Linked DNA regions of Homo sapiens: region 1 is linked to region 2. The links are contacts of gene promoters, found by promoter capture Hi-C in human tissues and cell types (Jung and others, 2019). All regions are on one chromosome and are shown on one strand. The core of a region is centred on a gene start or on the middle of the fragment in contact, and the rest is flanking DNA. Distances in the headings are between cores, read along the strand shown.

What was found. The method cuts DNA at HindIII sites, captures the fragments that hold promoters and counts their contacts. A contact is called where the count stands out against the background at its distance.
Region 1: a contact is called between a fragment that was not itself captured here and the fragment with the promoter of SCMH1 in region 2, in 1 of the 25 tissues and cell types used here (fat).

Annotation. Positions count from the first base shown.
Region 1 is chr1:40,980,462-40,983,541 of GRCh38, forward strand. CTPS1 (CTP synthase 1) reads left to right here. Exons shown (of 19, transcript NM_001905.4): 2 at 2,817-2,995. The coding sequence starts at 2,830. Among named protein-coding and RNA genes, the nearest start is that of CTPS1, 2.3 kb to the left of the region's middle. RefSeq lists an enhancer at 184-233. The HindIII fragment of the contact is 3,158 bases long and covers 94-3,080 here.
Region 2 is chr1:41,240,964-41,244,189 of GRCh38, forward strand. It overlaps SCMH1 (Scm polycomb group protein homolog 1), which reads right to left and starts at 1,343. Exons shown (of 16, transcript NM_001394311.1): 1 at 1,096-1,343. It overlaps SCMH1-DT (SCMH1 divergent transcript), which reads left to right and starts at 1,395. Exons shown (of 3, transcript NR_186015.1): 1 at 1,395-1,743. RefSeq lists an enhancer at 1-83 and silencers at 404-563, 664-1,213, 1,254-1,653. The HindIII fragment of the contact is 24,810 bases long and covers 1-3,226 here.

The sequences.
Region 1 (3,080 bases), core at 423-2,922, 260 kb before region 2:
CGTTTGCGTGGCGCCCTTCCGTCCACGCTCGTTACAGTTTCGAATCCTCAGCGGCCCTGTGACGCGGGCGGCGCAGAGATTCTCACCCCCATTCCCCTAGGTGAGAACCCGCGTTGCAGGCAGCTCAAGTGACATGATTGAGGTCTGCACACTAGTGATGGGGGCTGGCACTTCATCTCATAACATTGAAAGAAAAAGCATTTCCCCCCTCAGTCTTTGTTGAATTTCTCTGATGCGTCTTGATTTACGTTACTTCTGTGCCGGAAAACCTTCTTGCGCCTTCCGTCACCTTCAGGATTAAGTTCAGATTGGGCATGCCAGTTTGCACATGATCTGGCCCTTGCCTACCTTTCCAGTTTATCTTCCACTGTATATCCCTGCTTCCCCGCCTTCCCCCTCACGGCCTTACCTCTGTTCTCTGTAGCTGCCCTGCACCTGCCTGTTCACCCTGTTCCCTTTCCTGTGCTCTGAGTCGTGCAGTCAGTCCTTCAAGGCCCATTGCAAGTCATATCTACAAAACAGGAGCCGCCTGGATCCGCCCACTACCCCCAGGACTTGTCTCACCTTCCTCTGATGGCCATGGTACTGAAAGCGTCTGCTCTCATCGTCCCCCTTTATAGTCTAAACATGTTTTCTGTCTGCTTCCACCGTCACTGAATTACTCATTTATTTGTTAATGTTTCATCTCTCCAACTGGACTGCCAGAAAGTTGAGATATGGGCCCAAATCTGATTAATGTTTGCAGTCCCCAAGCACAGTAGCTGTCATGTAAGTCAGTAGCCCATAAGGATGAATGAATGAGCCTCCCGCCTGATCTTTATGTACACTGGCATATGTATTGCCAGGCACTGAGACTGCAAGAATCTAAAGAGAGAAACTAAAGAACGTAAAGAGAGATGTTAAACTCTTAGAGTAAAATTGGGACAAATCAAATGTAATTGGATGAGATGAATCTTTTGTAGAAGTAACTCACTCGGTGGCAGAGGAATTTCTAGGATCATCCAAAACTTAGGGAGACCAGGGTATAGTCTCAGTAAGGTATATGTCTGGTTAGAACATATCTAAAATGTACCTAAGACTGATTTTCATGTGTCAATAAGGAACTGTAAAGTGAGAGACTTAGGGTCAGATAAGCTTGGAGACACCGCATACTGTATAGCAGTGATCACAGTGCGAGTTTACTTGCTAAACACTCCCAGGATTCTTGCGTTAAATGACTTGGTTTAATCAGCGTTTCTCTGATTTATATCCATAACACCCTTTTTGAGAATCCCATGTGCATTTTGTTGAAACCAGGGAGCATGCTTTTGGAAATGCTGCAGCAGAGGATGCAAAGAGCCTTTGGAGCGGGGAAGACTTCTGAGCATTCTTCCTTCCCTGCCAAGTGTGTTCTTTCTTGCTCTGGGGAGGGGGTGGGGCGGGGGAATGCTTCGAGCACAACTCCTTAGTTTTCTTGTTCCTTAGTTTATTTTTATCATAATTTGGCTTCACATGGAACGTTCCTGAGGAGGAAAATGTCCTGACCATGCCAAAGTAAGCATTTTCTGCTACTTTCTAATTGTGTTTTTCATTTTGGTCACATTTGGGTTTGCTGACCAAATGGACGATCCTGGACCTCTGAAGCTGGGGACCAGTGATAAATCCTCCGTGGTGAGCCTGTCACGGTCTCCTCACCTCTTGTCGATGCTGTTTTCACCTGCATCTTGACTCTGCTGCCCTTATATCTTATTTCTCCTTTCCCTGCCACCGTGGCACTGCTTTTTGGATTTAATCTCATCTCCCCTCTCTTTGAGTCCTCTGCCCGTCATGTGCTTCAGACTGGTTTCTTATCTGATGTCCCTCTCCCCCAGTATTTACAGTCTCTCTTCATTGCATGCCTGGGAGAGATTTCTGACAAGGAGCAAGTTGTTGTTAAATTATAGAAGAGAACTACTTTTTCTTTTTTTTTGAGGTAGTCTTATTCTGTCGCGCACGCTGGAGTGCAGTGGCATGATCCCAGCTCACTGCAACCTCTGTCTCCTGGGTTCAAGCGATTCTCCTGCCTCAGTCTCCTGAGTAACTGGGACTACAGGCGTGCGCCATCACAGCCGGCTAATTTTTGTATTTTTAGTAGAGATGCGGTTTCCCCATATTGGCCAGGCTGGTCTCGAACTCCTGACCTCAAGTGATCCTCCTGGCTCTGCCTCCCAAAGTGCTGGGATTACAGGCATGAGCCACCATGCCCAGCCAGAGAACTACTTTTAATTAAAGGAATTTTGGTTTAGCTGCAACCACTTTTAAATGTTGATGTTCTTTCCTTTTAGTCTATCTTTTGTAACCTAGAGGAGCTGTGTTTTCTTGATGATATGTTGTAGTTTAGCCAAAGACATTATTTATTTCCTGGAGAACTGGAGTACTTATCCAAGTTTGAATTTTTTTCCCATGTAGGGAAAATAATGAGGCACCTGCCTGGTATCCCAGTGTCTGGCAGTGATGTCAGCAAACATTTGGGGTGTAGTGTTCTATCAGCCAGCTTAGAGCTGGTTTTATTAGGTTGACTCTGAAGGTTATTAGTTGTCAAAGCTTTAAACAAAAGCTGTGTTATTAGAGTAGCAGTTGTTTTTCTACACGTATTTGACTAAAGCCATTCAGTGATCCAAGAAATGTTTGTTTTGATCCTATTTAAACCTGACGAGAACCTTCTGAAGTCCTGTGACAGAGAAACTGAGGCTTCAAGAGGGTTCATAGCTAATAATTGGCAGAGCCAGTGTTTGAACCCAGATGAGTTTGGTTTGTTGAGATACATTTATATCATCTGTAATTTTTCCTTCTTCCAGGTCAAAGAGTAAAATGAAGTACATTCTGGTTACTGGTGGTGTTATATCAGGAATTGGAAAAGGAATCATTGCCAGCAGTGTGGGCACAATACTCAAGTCATGTGGTTTACATGTAACTTCAATCAAAATTGACCCCTACATTAACATTGATGCAGGAACATTCTCTCCTTATGAGCATGGTAAGCACAGTGGATTTCTTCATAATAATTGCATGTGGCAGAACATGTCAGCACTTGGGAATTATGTGCACGGTTTGCATAACTT
Region 2 (3,226 bases), core at 93-2,592:
AACTGAAGAAAGTGGAAGTGAAGACTCAGGGGACATGATTACTATCTTCAGATATCTTAACAGCTTCCCATAAGGGAAAAGAACTAGGAAGGATGGGAGCCAGCTGTTTCTTTCAACTTATAACCAAATGTGTCCAGGAACAGAATGGGTTTCCTTTAAAGAGATTCGCTTCGGATCACTGGAAGAGGTTCCAAACGGGCTCGTCAAATTATCGGGGGGATTTGGGGATTTTCAAAGTCACTTTGGCATGGGATGGGAGAAAGCGCCCCTAGATGACTTTTAAATTCTCTTCCAGTCAGGAGATATTCCGGGGTTCACCCATCGGCTGGATACCACTTTCGATGCTCTCGGGCTGGCACACAACTGTGCCCACGTGTCTGGCCCCCAGGGCCGCTGTGGCTCACTTCGGTGCGGGGCCGCTCTCCCTGCCCGTTTCCGGCGGGGCACTGGGGCAGGCGGCACACGTGAGTCGGCCAGCCGGGGCCCAGCCCCCAGGACGCTGCTGACAGCTCCGGGCCCTAGGCGCCCCAGCTCTCGGTGGGGGCCACGCCGCCCCGTCGACCTCTGTCTCTGCCTTCCCCGAACCGGGACCCGGCCAGCCAGAATCACAGGCATTCCCACCTCTGGCGCCGGAGGGGACCGACTGACCCGCGCAGACGGGGTCGCGCCGCCGCCCGGCCCTCGGCCCCCAGCCAGCCTGCCCCGGCCCACCCGGCCCCGCCGGCCAGACACGGCGACCTATACGGACCGCCCCCACGCCGACCCTCCAAAGGGCCCCCGGCCTTGGGTTTCCCGTGCCGGGGCCCCCGGGCAGTCCTGGCGGCGTCAGGGCCGCGACCGGACCGTGGGCCCCGCCCGCCCGACCGCAGATGCAGAGCCGGCCTCCGGGCTCGGGGCCGGGCTGACACGGCCGAGAAAGGGCCCAGCCCCGCGCGGACCACAGACTGGCAGGCCGGCCAGACAGACGGACAGGCTGACCCCGGCCCGGGGGAGCAGGCGCAGCGGCTGCGCAGGTCCCGCCACCGCCTTCTGGCCCCAGGCGGCCCCTCAGGGCACGAGCTCTTAGGCGGGCGGAGGCGGCCGCGAGGCGCTTACCTGAGGGCGCGGCGGGGGCGCGGGGCGGCTCACTCTCTTCCCGCCGCCATGTTTCCGCTGCGCAGGGAGGGAGCGGAGACGCGGGAAGGGGGCGGGCGGGCGGCTCGGGAGAGCGGCGGGCGGGCGGCGGGGGGCTCCACCGAGCTGGCGGTGGCGGCTGAGGCGGGGGGCGGGGCGGGGGCTCCCCCGGCCCCTCCCCCGCGCCTCCCGCTGCGAGGTGGCGCGCGCCTCGGCCGTTGGGCTCGCGCGGGGGGCGGGGCGGCGCGCTGGAGGAGGGAGGGCGCGCGGGAACCCGGCCCGGCCGTACCCCGCCGGCCTGCCGACCCGGGTCCGGGGGCCCAGTTGGCGCCCGGACCAGCTCTCCGGTCTGCGTCCTGTAGATGGGAAAACTGAGGCCTGAGAGGGCGCGAGGGCGGGGACGAGGCCGAGGACTCGGGTTCGAATCTCGAGGACGCCAGTAGCCCGCTCTGAGGCCGCGTGGGGCTGGTGGAGGAGCCACCGGTCGGGCCCCCAAGACCGGCTGACGTGGGCCTCGCCTCGGGCGACTCCCGCCGGGCTAGTGGCTGGCCGTGTGGTGACCTTGGGCGAGTTACTTCGCACAGCCACCCAGGGGCCTCTTCTCCAACACGATAGCACTGCACCCGGAGGGTAGGTGAGAGATGAGTTGGTGCTTGGATGCCCTAGGGAGTGTCAGCGTCCTCGGTCCTCCCTGTGGTGATCCCTTCAACGAGTACGCACTGAGCCCGTGATGGGCCAGGTACAATGCACAGGCTCATTCTTCCAGGCCCACCAGCCATGTTGGCTACACAATTCTATTTTTGTTTTGTTAGAGATGGAGCCTCACTTTGTCCCCAAGGTCGGAGTGCAGTGGCGCCATCATAGCTCACTGTAACCTCAAATTACTGGGCTCAAGTGATCCTCCTGCGTCAGCCTCCCAAAGCGCTGGGACTACAGGCGTGAGCCACTGCGCCTGGCACACAATTGGTTTAACCACCACATCATTTTAGCAGCTTAGGAAACTGACGTCTTGACTTCTGTTTTGGCTGCTTGAAAATACAGTGCAATATAAATCCCGAGACCTCTGCTGAGCTGGATGTGGAGTGGGTGTGGGCATCATTTAGAACATGGCAATCCTCAGGTCACACAGGAATGTCTTGTTAATGATCCTTCTGTGAACAATGTTCCTTGGAGGGAAGTCCACTTAAGCAAGGCTGGAGCAGCAGATGGGGCAGCTGAGCCTGGATTACTTGCCTTGCCTCTAGAATAGGTCTTAGAGCTTTGGACTGAAGGGGGGCCGCCTCCTTGTATCCTGGTATTGGTGTCAGTATCCGTCTGCCCATTCTTGAGAAATGGAAATGGTCAGAATCTATCCAGGTTCTGATCTGCATCCCTGTTGTCTAATTTAAACTTTCATTCCATGGCGTTTTGGGGAGTACCTGTCTCATGAAGAGCCCTGAGGTTACAAGGATAATTAGAGCCTAAATCTAAGGAGCCCATATTTGGGGAAACTATTATGTCAATAGCTAATGAGAGCACAGTGTTGTAAGTGCTCATATTAGTTTTCTATTCCTGCATAACAAATTGGCACAAATTTTGCAGCTTAAAGCAACACCCATTGATTTACTCACAGTTGTGTAGGTCGGAAAACTGGCATGGTGTGGCTGGGTTTTCTGCTCGTGGTGTCATAGGCTGAAATCAAGATGTCTAGCACCTCCACGAGGGAAAGGTCTGCCCCAGGCTCCTTCGGGCTGTTGGCAGAATTCATGTCCCTGTAGGACTAGGATCCCACAGCTACACTGTTTTGCCAGCTCTCTGTTGGGGACCACTCTCAGGTCCTTGCCACGTGATCCCTTTTATCTCATCAACAGAGAACCTTTCTCATGTCACTCCCTCTCATTCTTTAAATATCTCTGATTTCCCTTCTTCAACCAGTCAGAGAACACTATGAGCTTTTAAAAGACTTGTAATTAGGTCAGACCCACCTAGATAATCTTCCTACTTTAAGATCACCTGTGCCACATCACATACCCTAATCACAGGAGTAAAATTCATCATAGCCACTGTCCCAGGGACTATGCAGAAGGTGTACATGAAGGTTAATCTAGGAAGCTACCTTAGAATTCTGCCTACT